Linked DNA regions of Homo sapiens: regions 1 and 3 are each linked to region 2. The links are contacts of gene promoters, found by promoter capture Hi-C in blood cells and fetal thymus (Javierre and others, 2016). All regions are on one chromosome and are shown on one strand. Each heading gives the region's core, a stretch centred on a gene start or on the middle of the fragment in contact. The rest is flanking DNA. Distances are from core to core; before and after follow the strand shown.

Region 1 (3,533 bases), core at 954-3,453, 1.1 Mb before region 2:
TATGCATTTTCAAAGAGTTGAGGATATAATTCAAAGGCACATTTCCAAATTAGCTTCTCTGGGCAGGGAACAATTAAAACTGGAGTAATTCATTTATTCTAATTGAGGTTCTGCATATTTTAACATAAAACCTATTGCACCACTAATGTTCTCTCTGCAAATGTTCCAAAGTAATTGGGAAGGCTTTATCACTCCATTAAAAGTGCTGAAAACTGTGTGACAAAGATTAAAACTGTTCTGTCCTGAAGGCTGGAATATTGGTTGGGAATATAAAGAAGCAAAAATCAAGTAGATTCAGAATGATGGGTAAGTTATTGGTTTATGACTGTATGGGGTAATTTATAAAAATTTCTACATTAAATGTACATGTTTTGAAGCACAAAACTCTCCAATGATCATTTTTACACAGGATGTACGCGTTTTGAAGCACAAAACTCTCCAGTGATCACAGGTCATAGACTGTCTGATTTTTATGTGAAATCCCATTTTAAGAGTAAAATATAAGTAACATAGTAGGCTCTAGTCTATAAACAAAGACTTCTATTTATAGTTTGTTTGCCCCCTGAGCCCCATCTCATCTGCTGGTGGCATGCACATGCTCTTTATTACCAGTGCGAATATAGCTGGGAAACTAATGCCACTCACCATACAGGATGGTTAACATGGACACGGGCATGACAAGGAAACCCAGCAGCATATCAGCTATGGCAAGTGACATCAGGAAATAGTTGGTGGCATTCTGCAGCTTTTTCTCTAGGGACACTGCCATGATGACGAGTATGTTTCCAGCAATAGTTAGAATAATCACTACGGCTGTCAGTAAAGCAGACCAGTTTTTTTCCTGGAGATGAAGTAAGGAGAGACACGACGGTGAGAGGCACCCTTCACAGGAAAGGTTGGTTCGATTTTCAGAGTCGACTGTCCAGTTAAATGCATCAGAAGTGTTAGCTTCTCCGGAGTTAAAGTCATTACTGTAGAGCCTGGTGTCATCATTTAATTGCATTAGGGAGTTCGTAGTTGAGCTCAAAGAAGTATTTTCTTCACAAAGAATATCCATGTCTAAGCCAGAACTTGTAGCAGATGAGGTGTAGAAGGACTAACAGGTTATAGTTTCTGCTCACCATTCACCTTGATGTACCCACACTCTGTAACACTGAGGCTGGTGTACATGCTGTTCTCCCGGGGCTGGATTTTTGTCTTCCATTATTACAATGATAGTTAAAGAACTGAACTGTGGTGGCTGTAAGTTTTCTTCATTCACAATTTTAGGAGAGTCCACTGTTTGGTTTTATTATTTTCTCACCAAACCGAGGACAAAAAAGCAGAATGAACTTTTAGCATAGAGGTTGCAGGGTTTTTTTTGAGCGCTCGGGAAGATAAATGTCCTGGACAAAGAAGAAAAGTTTTATAACTACTGGGACTCTTGTTTAACTATATCTCATTTTGTTGGTTATGCCGATGGTACTAGTTTAGCAACAGTATTATTAAAATAGCATGCAATCAGAAACAGTGGGGATGTACACATTCTACATTAAGAAAGTCAATTAAAAATACATCCAGTGTTAATCCCATAGTAATTGGATGTACTTTGGGTTACAGTTCTCAGCCATTCTTAAGCTGAATTGCCACAGCTGCTGTCAGGAATTTCAGCTCCTATAATGTTGCTTAGCTAATAAAAGGAAAACAAAAAAGTCTTAAGTAAAGATTAGCAGACAACTTTCCTCCCTGGAAATTCTCATTGAAATGATTACATGTTGGCCAAGCATGATTTCAAACCGGAAAGAAAATTACACAGCAATAAAATATAGCGGCATGAGAACTTACATTTGTCTTCAGGGTCCACACATGAGATACATTTGTTATTCTGTGACTCGCTGCATCTCTCACAGTAATTAAACTGGTGTAGAGTCCCCTCTTCTTGATCTTCCACCAGCATAATATGATAGTAATTTGGTTTCTGTTTTGCTGACTTCAAAAACTGCATGCAAGAGCTGAGCCAGCTCCCGCACTGCTAGGATCCTGTTGGCTTCCTCTGGCACGGCTCGGCTGGGTTCCTCCCTCCCTGTGCGGCTCGCCTCAGCAGGCACACATTTAGAAATCATTCACGAGCCCCTCAAAGTCGCACAAAAGAACTGCATGGGAAAGTAGGAAGAGCTGTCTGCACCAAGGGACTCCTGGTTTCCACGGGAATGGAGTAGCTCTCTGACTGTCTCGTTCATTTCATCAGACCTCCCTCTATGTGTATGTCATAAGCTGCAAGGTAGCAACAGCCAGGAGGGCGGACCAAACAGGCTTTTTCTTCTCCCTCTTTTTGCTACATATTAATATTGGGAAGTTTTCCTTTGCTTTTGAGAGAAACTGGAGAAATGGCCTTTTGTGCAGATTCCCATTAAGGTAGGTAAGTGGCACTGTGGTAATTTTTTAGGCTGAAGGGTGAAGAGAGAACATAAATAAGGCTAGAAAACAGTATGTCCTCGGAGTGCTGTGAGTGTCCGGCACTTCCATCCAAAGCCAACAGTGTTTGTGTCCAGAGTGGAATTACTGACATTGGCCACATAGGCTCAGGGTGGCTAGGCACGTCTGTGGTGATAACTCTGATAAACTATTAGCACTATTTTTATTTAATAGATACACCATTGAACTGGCTTATTTTCTTCAGCAGAAATATGCCACCCAGATATTATTCAAAACCTCACATGTGGTAGGAAATAAGTTGGTTTCGCAGTACCAATTTTTTTCCCCCACCAGTAATGACAACTTGCCTTACTTGTAAAGAAAGCCCTTTCCCAAGTAGGTTTCTAAAGGAGGCAGTTCGATCTCTCTCTTTTTGCAGGCATGAAAATATTTTCCTCAATAGTTGGGTTTTGCTACAGTTCTATCACCTTCTGTTCTTCACATTCTCCCTGGACAAATTCAACCACTCTCATGCCTTCAATATGTTTGTGGCCAAGTCTGTACCTTCATAGCTGATTATTTCTCTCAGTTCCAGACCTAAATCTCTAGCTGCCCATTGGCTCCTTCCATGGTAGCCTGGGAGACCTTGACCTCAGCATCTTCCCTCACTCCGCATCCCCCTGCCCGGCTCTCAGTGCTTGTTCCTACCCATTGGCTTGCATGATGGAATCACCACCTCTTCAGACAGCTGCTGTTATCCGCGACTCTTCCTTCATTCTCGCTGCCAGATCCCACTTCGTCTCCGGTGCTACCTCTGTATGCGTGTTTCTCACATGTCCTCTCCTGCAGCCTGCAGCTGGCACCCTGTGGTCGAGATCTAGCCACCTATTTCCTGGGTGGGTGCCTTAGTGCCCCCCTCACTGCCATGCCTGCCACCCTCCTACCCCTCCACGTTAAATATGCACGCTGGCGAGCAGGCAGCGGAGAACACAGACCTTAGAGTTCCTTGGTTTTGGATCCTAGCTCTATCACTCATAAACAGTAGAACCTCGCCTCATCTAGTTGCTCCCTTTAAAGCTCAGTCTTCTCACTTGTAAAATGGGATAATACCTTCCTCATAAGATTGTAGTGAAGCTAAA
Region 2 (3,325 bases), core at 653-3,152:
TACGTTTTATTGATTTTTAAATTTTATGAGTTGTGCTAACTAGAATCTCCAGCAACATGATGACTAAACGTGCTCAGAGTGGATACCCTAGCTCCTCCCAAATCTTGTCTTTCACCAAGATAAGGCTAGGCTAGTGCTATGGCTGCCATAACAAAGTATCAAGCCATAACAAAGTATCAAAGATTGTGTGGCTTAAATAACATAAATTAATTTTCTCACAATACTGGAGGCTAGAATTCTAAGATCAAGGTGTCAGCAGACTTGGTTTCTTCTGAGGCTGCTCTCCTTGGCTTGTAGACGGCTGCCTTCTCCCTGTGTCATCATACAGTCTTCCAATAGAACACAGTCTGGGTTCTAATCTCTACTTCTTGCGAGGACACCAGTCATAACATTAGAATAGGGCCTACCCTAGTGGCTTCATTTTAACTTGATCCTGTCTCCAAATGCTGAGGTACTGGGGGATAGGACTTCGACATAGGAATTTTGAGGGGACACAATTCAGCTCAAAACAGTCATTAAATATGATGTTAGCTGTAGGTCTTTGTAGATGCCATATATCATGTTAAAGTTTCATTTTATTTCTAGTTTGCTCAGAGATTTTGTGGAGTTTTTTTAATCACAACTGAGTATCGGATTTTATTAATTTTTTTCTGCATCTATTGAGATGATTATATGTATTTCCTTTCTCCCTCTGTTAATATGCTGAATTACATTGGCTTTTCAAATATTAAGCCAACCTAGTATTTCTGGGATTAATCTCATTGTTCAATATATTATCCTTTTTATATACTACCATTTTTTGAGAAGATATTGTAAGTACCTTTGTAATGAATGTGAATGTTGATAGTGAGGAGAGATGCTGTGAAAAGCTTAATACCCATTTAGTATAACATGGAGAGTAAGCATATTACTTAGAAATAAGTAGGCAAATATCAGAAATACAGTTCAAAGAGTTAAAAGTGATTGTTTCTGAAAGTAGGAGGGTCAGGTTGCTCTTGTTGCGGTTTTTGCACCATTTTACTTCTTAAAATTATAGCTATAGGTCAGGCGCAGTGGTTCACGCCTGTTATCCCAGCACTCTGGTAGGCCCAAGTGGAAGGACTGCTTGAGGACAGGAGTTGGAGATCAGCCTCGACAAAAGACCGACAGCCCACCTCCACAAAAAAAAAAAAAAGAAAGAAAATTAGCTAGCTTGGTGAAAATTAAAATAAAATAAAATTACCAGTATGTGCACATTACTTTGGTAGAAGTAAAAATAATGAGAAAGAGAGAAAACCCTCCCAGTAACTAGTCATTTGTTTTTATGATTCAGCTGGTTTGTATTTTGCATGGTGCATGGTGTGCAAACATCTGAAAATGTCTGTTTTCCACTGTTTGTAACTAACTCTTCCCAGCATGATTTATCAATTAGCCTTTATTTCCTCCCATGACTTATGAATATACCTTAAGCATAGTTGTTTATAATGGGATGTTTCTAAACGACCTATCCTTATCCTGGTACCACGCTGATTTGAGCTACAGGGCAAATGGGTGCACCATGGTGGGCGAGGTCATTCACGGAAAAAAGAATGTGCAGTGGTGCCGAGGTTGGTAAGAGCAGGCGGCTTGTACATGTAAATGCATGGTTTGCAGGAATCTGGGAGTGGATAGGCTGACGGGTGATGAATATTCAAAGCACAACTGTAAGCGACTTTAGTTACAGCGAAACTCTAAGGCACGCTGCCCTTCGGAAGGAAACACGGCATTCCCCAACCTGATAGCCCTCCGCGACGCATTACGCACCGCGGACAGCTGGAGAGGCCGAGGCGCTCTCGCTTTGATTTCGGCGCCTCCGCCCTCGCGGGGAGAGATTGGCTGCGGCCGCGGGACGGGGTAGTGAGCGCGTCACTTCCTGCCGCTGCCAGGCGCGTCCTCCCGCGCGCTATGACGGCCAGCGCACAGCCGCGCGGGCGGCGGCCAGGAGTCGGAGTCGGAGTCGTGGTGACCAGCTGCAAGCATCCGCGTTGCGTCCTCCTGGGGAAGAGGAAAGGCTCGGTTGGAGCTGGCAGTTTCCAACTCCCTGGAGGTCATCTGGAGTTCGGGTGAGCAGCCGCGGACGCGAGGAAACCGGGGCGTGCGCAGAGGGACGAACTCACGCCGTGCTTGCTTCCGTGTGCCGTGCGTGAGAACGTCCGCGCTGACGCTGCGTCCTTTCTTGCGCGTTCCCTCGGTTCCTCCCCTCGACTTCTGGGCGACGTAGGATCGCGCCCAGGAGGGGGCGCTGTGCTGGGTCAGGCGAGGTCTTTGCTAGCTGGGTCTTTCCGGCTGCGCCCCTGCTGGGTGGTGGTTGGGAGTTCGTCTGTGAGGTGTGTTTCTCACAGCTTACACACAAAAGGAGGAAAGCAGGTGTGTGTAAACCTCCAGCAGCCCGATATTGTCAGCTAAGACATTGCACCGTTTCCATGTGATTGATTGATTGATCGATTGATTGATTTGAGACTGTGTCTCGCTCTGTAGCCCAGGCCAGAGTGCAGTGGTGCTATCTCCAGTCACTGCAACCTCCGCCTCCTGGGTTCAAGCGATTTTTGTGTCTCAGCCTCCTGGTAGCTGGGATTACAGGCGCCCGCTACCACGCCGTGCTAATTTTTGTATTTTTAGTAGAGACGGGGTTTCGCCATGTTGGCCAGGCTGGTCTCGAACTCCTGACCTCAGGTGATCCACCCGTGAGGTCAATGACCATAGCCAACATTGAGCTCTAATGGGCTTTTTGTTAAAGGCTGGATAATATGCCAAGCTCTTTGCATGTATACTTTCATTTGATCTTTACATAACTGGCATACTCAGTGGGCTAAATTTGATGGGAGAACAAACAGGAAATGGTTTTATTTTCTCCTTCCACTGCCTTCAAACATGATTTTTTCTTTCCCTCTTCAGTGACGTTTCCTGCAAATTCTATAGTTTTCTTGTCACTTGGTTATAAAAATAAATCACATTTGGGTCAGTATGATTCACTTCCAAGCATTTAAAAGTCCAATCCAATTTAAACCTTCAGTGTCACTTCCAGTTTCTAATCCCTCCCCTGCAGTGCATAAAGGAGGTGTGAGCCATTGTTCTGCTTTTCTGTATCCTCCTCCTCTTCTCACCTGGCTGTCTCTGAGTTTCCTTCTTTCTCCAGTGTGTTGGAGGAGGAGAGAGAGCAAGCCATTCAGGTGACTGATGCTGCTCTGATCCATCCATTGGTGTCCTCTGGGCATGATATCCACATGTGTGCTTTCTCAGGGTATGTTTGTCAGTTGTTGGGAAGTCCCACAGAGATTTTCCTGACATAGGTGACGGGCTTTCTGTG
Region 3 (3,120 bases), core at 479-2,978, 1.2 Mb before region 2:
GCACAGAGAAGTTAGGCAAGTTGCCAAATGTCACACAGTAAGTGCTGAAACTAGAATTTTGAGCCACAGCCTGGCTCTGTAGTCTGTATTTTTCTATGCTCTGTAGCCTCAGCACACTTTCGCCATCAGGTATGCAGGCTTGGGGATCAAACTTCCTCACTTCAGAAAAGTTGCTGCTTGAAGAGTTGCTGCTTCATTGCTGCTCAAGGCTGGCTCTTAGATCCGGAGCCTGGAATTCATGCAGTGTCCTACCTATGAAATCTTTCTGTGGGGACAGGCCTCCTTTTATCTGTGCTTGTGTTGCAGGGGCTATACGTTTCTCATTTAGAGCCATTTACATGCTATCTATGGGAAGACTGGCTATAGAAACCATCTTTTAAGAACTTAATGCTAAGGACCAGTTATGTTTTACTGCAAGTCTTTAATGCACAATGCCAAGATCAACATTTTTTGAAATTACAATTTTCTCTGCTATTTCTTACAATGCTTATTTTCTTTCCATGGTTCCCAGCTAATTGGTGTCCCGTACCTGTGCTGATGTTGAATGTTTTTCCTCCAAATTAACCTATAGATGATTTCTGGGGTGGGGGTGAGGATGGGGCAGAAACCCTTTGAAAAGGAGTGCAAAAGTTCATGTTCATGTGACTACGTACATTTTTCAGGAAAGAGGTAATTATCCCAATACTCTGCAACACAAAAAAGATTCTGAATCACTGAGCCTGGGTGTACAAACACTATGTCTTGTGTGTATGTGTCTGTGTATATGTGTGTTTCCTAGTAAAACCAGTTTCATATCTTCATAGTTCTATTTCTTCTGGATAGTACTTTTCTAGAGAATATGGCAGTAATTTCTAATTTTAAAAGACATAAGAAACAAAAGTCACAGTAAAAATCTAATCAGCCAAATAGTTTATAAGAAAATGCAGGAAAAAGATAAAGAATGAGCTCCTTGATACATTGTATATTCTGGTTCAAACATAGTACATGCACAGATACATACAGCACAAAACACACTAACTTTAATATCCTGTGGAGAAGTTAATTTGCTGGATTACACATATGCATGTTAAATGGGAGCATTTATTAGAATAAGTCAGACCAAAAGAACACTTTCGCACGGAATATTTATATAATGGAAACAGGGATTTCTGAAAAATTGCTTCAGTTTTCCAGGTGGCTTTACAAGGGCAGGATGGATGTAGAGTAACTGGGAGAGAGACTCTCCTTTTAGCAACATTCTGGGCATGAAAGGCAGTTGTGGATCCAGCCAAATAAGCTGCAAACTTCCCGATGATATATTCACCGCTTTTCTACATTTTGTGATAGTAATAAGGAAGGTGTTAGCTCTAGCCTGCTAAATGTTTGAATCTGATGCATTTTGTAATCAGCAGAATAATGGTCCCCAAAGATGCCTACGCCTAACTCCTGGATGCTGTGAATATGTTGTGTTATATGGCAAGGATAAACTAAAGTTGCAGATGGGAATTAAAGATGTCAATCAGCTGAGCTGGAAATAATTAGAGTGCCCTGGATTATCCAGGTGGGCCCAATGTAATCACAGATTTCCTTAAAAGTGGAAGAGGGAGGAAGGTGTGTTGGGTCAAAGTGATTCAATAAGAGCAGGATTCAATCTGTACTGGCTACCTTGGAAGATAACAGGAAAAGGACCGTGGGCCAAGGAGTGTAGGTGGTTTCTAGAAGCTGGAGGGGCCAGTGACATATTTTTTCCCTAGTGCCTCCAGAAAGAACGCAGCCCTACTGACACCTTGGTTTTGGCCTGGTGAGACCAACTTTGGACTTTTCACTTCCAAAACTGTAAGTAATAAATTTGTGTTGTTTTAAGCCAACAGCAGAGGTGTCATTTCAGTTTGTAGTCATTGCTACAGCAGCACTAAGGAGCTGGCACACATTGCCGGGACTCGCTCTGGCGCTTGGGCGGCACTGTAGGTGTCCACGTTCTTGGAGGTAGTCAGCAAAGGGGGGCTCTCTCGGCTGGGCTGGCCACGTCTGCTTACACAGAGTGCTACCCTCTTCCCACTGCGGTAACAGCCTTGCCTTAGCCCCTGTGTGTTTGGAGTGGCATTCGCTACAAAAGTTCTTTGTCAAAGGGACAAACGATGAGCTATGATGCCATTCAGACTGATGTGTTAACTTCTAAGCTTTCCTATGATTAAGATAATTGTTCTATGATATGAGGAGCGGCATTGCATGCAGTATATTTCTTTATGTGCTGTTAAAATGCAGTTCACGGCTGTAGACAGGTGGGGTGAAATTAGCACCAGACTGGGAGACAGAAGCCCTGATTTCTTTCCTTGGCCTGTCCACATACAAGCTATGGGTGTAATGAACTTTTGTTTTCCCATAAACATTTTAAAATCACTTAGTCATGCTCCTCAAAAAATTTTAACTTTTGGATTAAAACTGTTGAAACTGTAGATAATCTGGTGGAAAATGAACACCTTAGTTCTACAGTTAACAAAGGTAAGTTATCTCAATAATTTGAACATGTTATATTTTTATCTACTTAGGTCTTGTCTGTCCTATAATAGTTCTAGGGCTTTTTTTTTTCCTATAAAGTTCCTGGTAATTCTTATCTGATTTTTCTTTTTCTCCTTAATATAGTGCATTATTCTGAATTGTTAGGTAAAAGTTGGTCTGCTTGTTGTCAGTATCTTATAGAGTTTGTGCTTCTCATATGCCTAGAAATTTTTTCTTGTGACTTTATATCCCCTTCAGGGGATATAAGATGCCGTGATTAATATCGTACACCAGGAGAAGGGGTTACAGCCTGTGCGCCTCCTGGTGATCTTGATTAGGAAGAAGGGGAAGGTGGACCTTAGGGCAGATGGCCTCTAGCATTGAAATGTGGGCTCCCAGATCCTCCATCTGTCCACATCTTGCTGGACACCTCCATACTCATCTGCCTGGGCCACTTCTCTGACTCCCAATCCCCTAACCCTTGGGCTGGGAGGAGAAAGAGCTCAGAAGCCAGCAGGTTGCTCTCTTCCCTTGCTGTGTGCTCTCAGTGGTTGTTGGCAGCACACTGGAATCACCTGGCAGCCTTAAATACTGATAGTGAATTGAATCCATAGAGATTCTGATTTTGTGCATTCCAGGTGA

The links. Contacts are between HindIII fragments. The CHiCAGO score rates a contact against its expected background, and 5 or more counts as called.
Region 1: the fragment with the promoter of HTR2A here is called in contact with the fragment with the promoter of NUDT15 in region 2 in 10 of 17 cell types (megakaryocytes, M1 macrophages, M0 macrophages and 7 more); the score reaches 18.8 in megakaryocytes.
Region 3: the fragment with the promoter of HTR2A-AS1 here is called in contact with the fragment with the promoter of NUDT15 in region 2 in 8 of 17 cell types (M0 macrophages, M2 macrophages, megakaryocytes and 5 more); the score reaches 21.2 in M0 macrophages.

The regions. Positions count from the first base shown.
Region 1 is chr13:46,894,850-46,898,382 of GRCh38, forward strand. It overlaps HTR2A (5-hydroxytryptamine receptor 2A), which reads right to left and starts at 2,204. Exons shown (of 4, transcript NM_000621.5): 1 at 1,825-2,204; 2 at 646-1,385. The coding sequence starts at 1,057. The HindIII fragment of the contact is 5,377 bases long and covers 1-3,533 here.
Region 2 is chr13:48,035,824-48,039,148 of GRCh38, forward strand. NUDT15 (nudix hydrolase 15) reads left to right here and starts at 1,903. Exons shown (of 3, transcript NM_018283.4): 1 at 1,903-2,081. The coding sequence starts at 1,924. It overlaps LOC124903172 (a long non-coding RNA gene), which reads right to left and starts at 2,169. Exons shown (of 2, transcript XR_007063788.1): 1 at 1,783-2,169. RefSeq lists enhancers at 1,031-1,907, 1,908-2,783, 1,950-2,189, 2,240-2,399. The HindIII fragment of the contact is 6,950 bases long and covers 868-3,325 here.
Region 3 is chr13:46,850,412-46,853,531 of GRCh38, forward strand. It overlaps HTR2A-AS1 (HTR2A antisense RNA 1), which reads left to right and starts at 1,729. Exons shown (of 2, transcript NR_103752.1): 1 at 1,729-1,815. The region is part of intron 3 of HTR2A (5-hydroxytryptamine receptor 2A); the gene reads right to left. The HindIII fragment of the contact is 4,589 bases long and covers 1-2,157 here.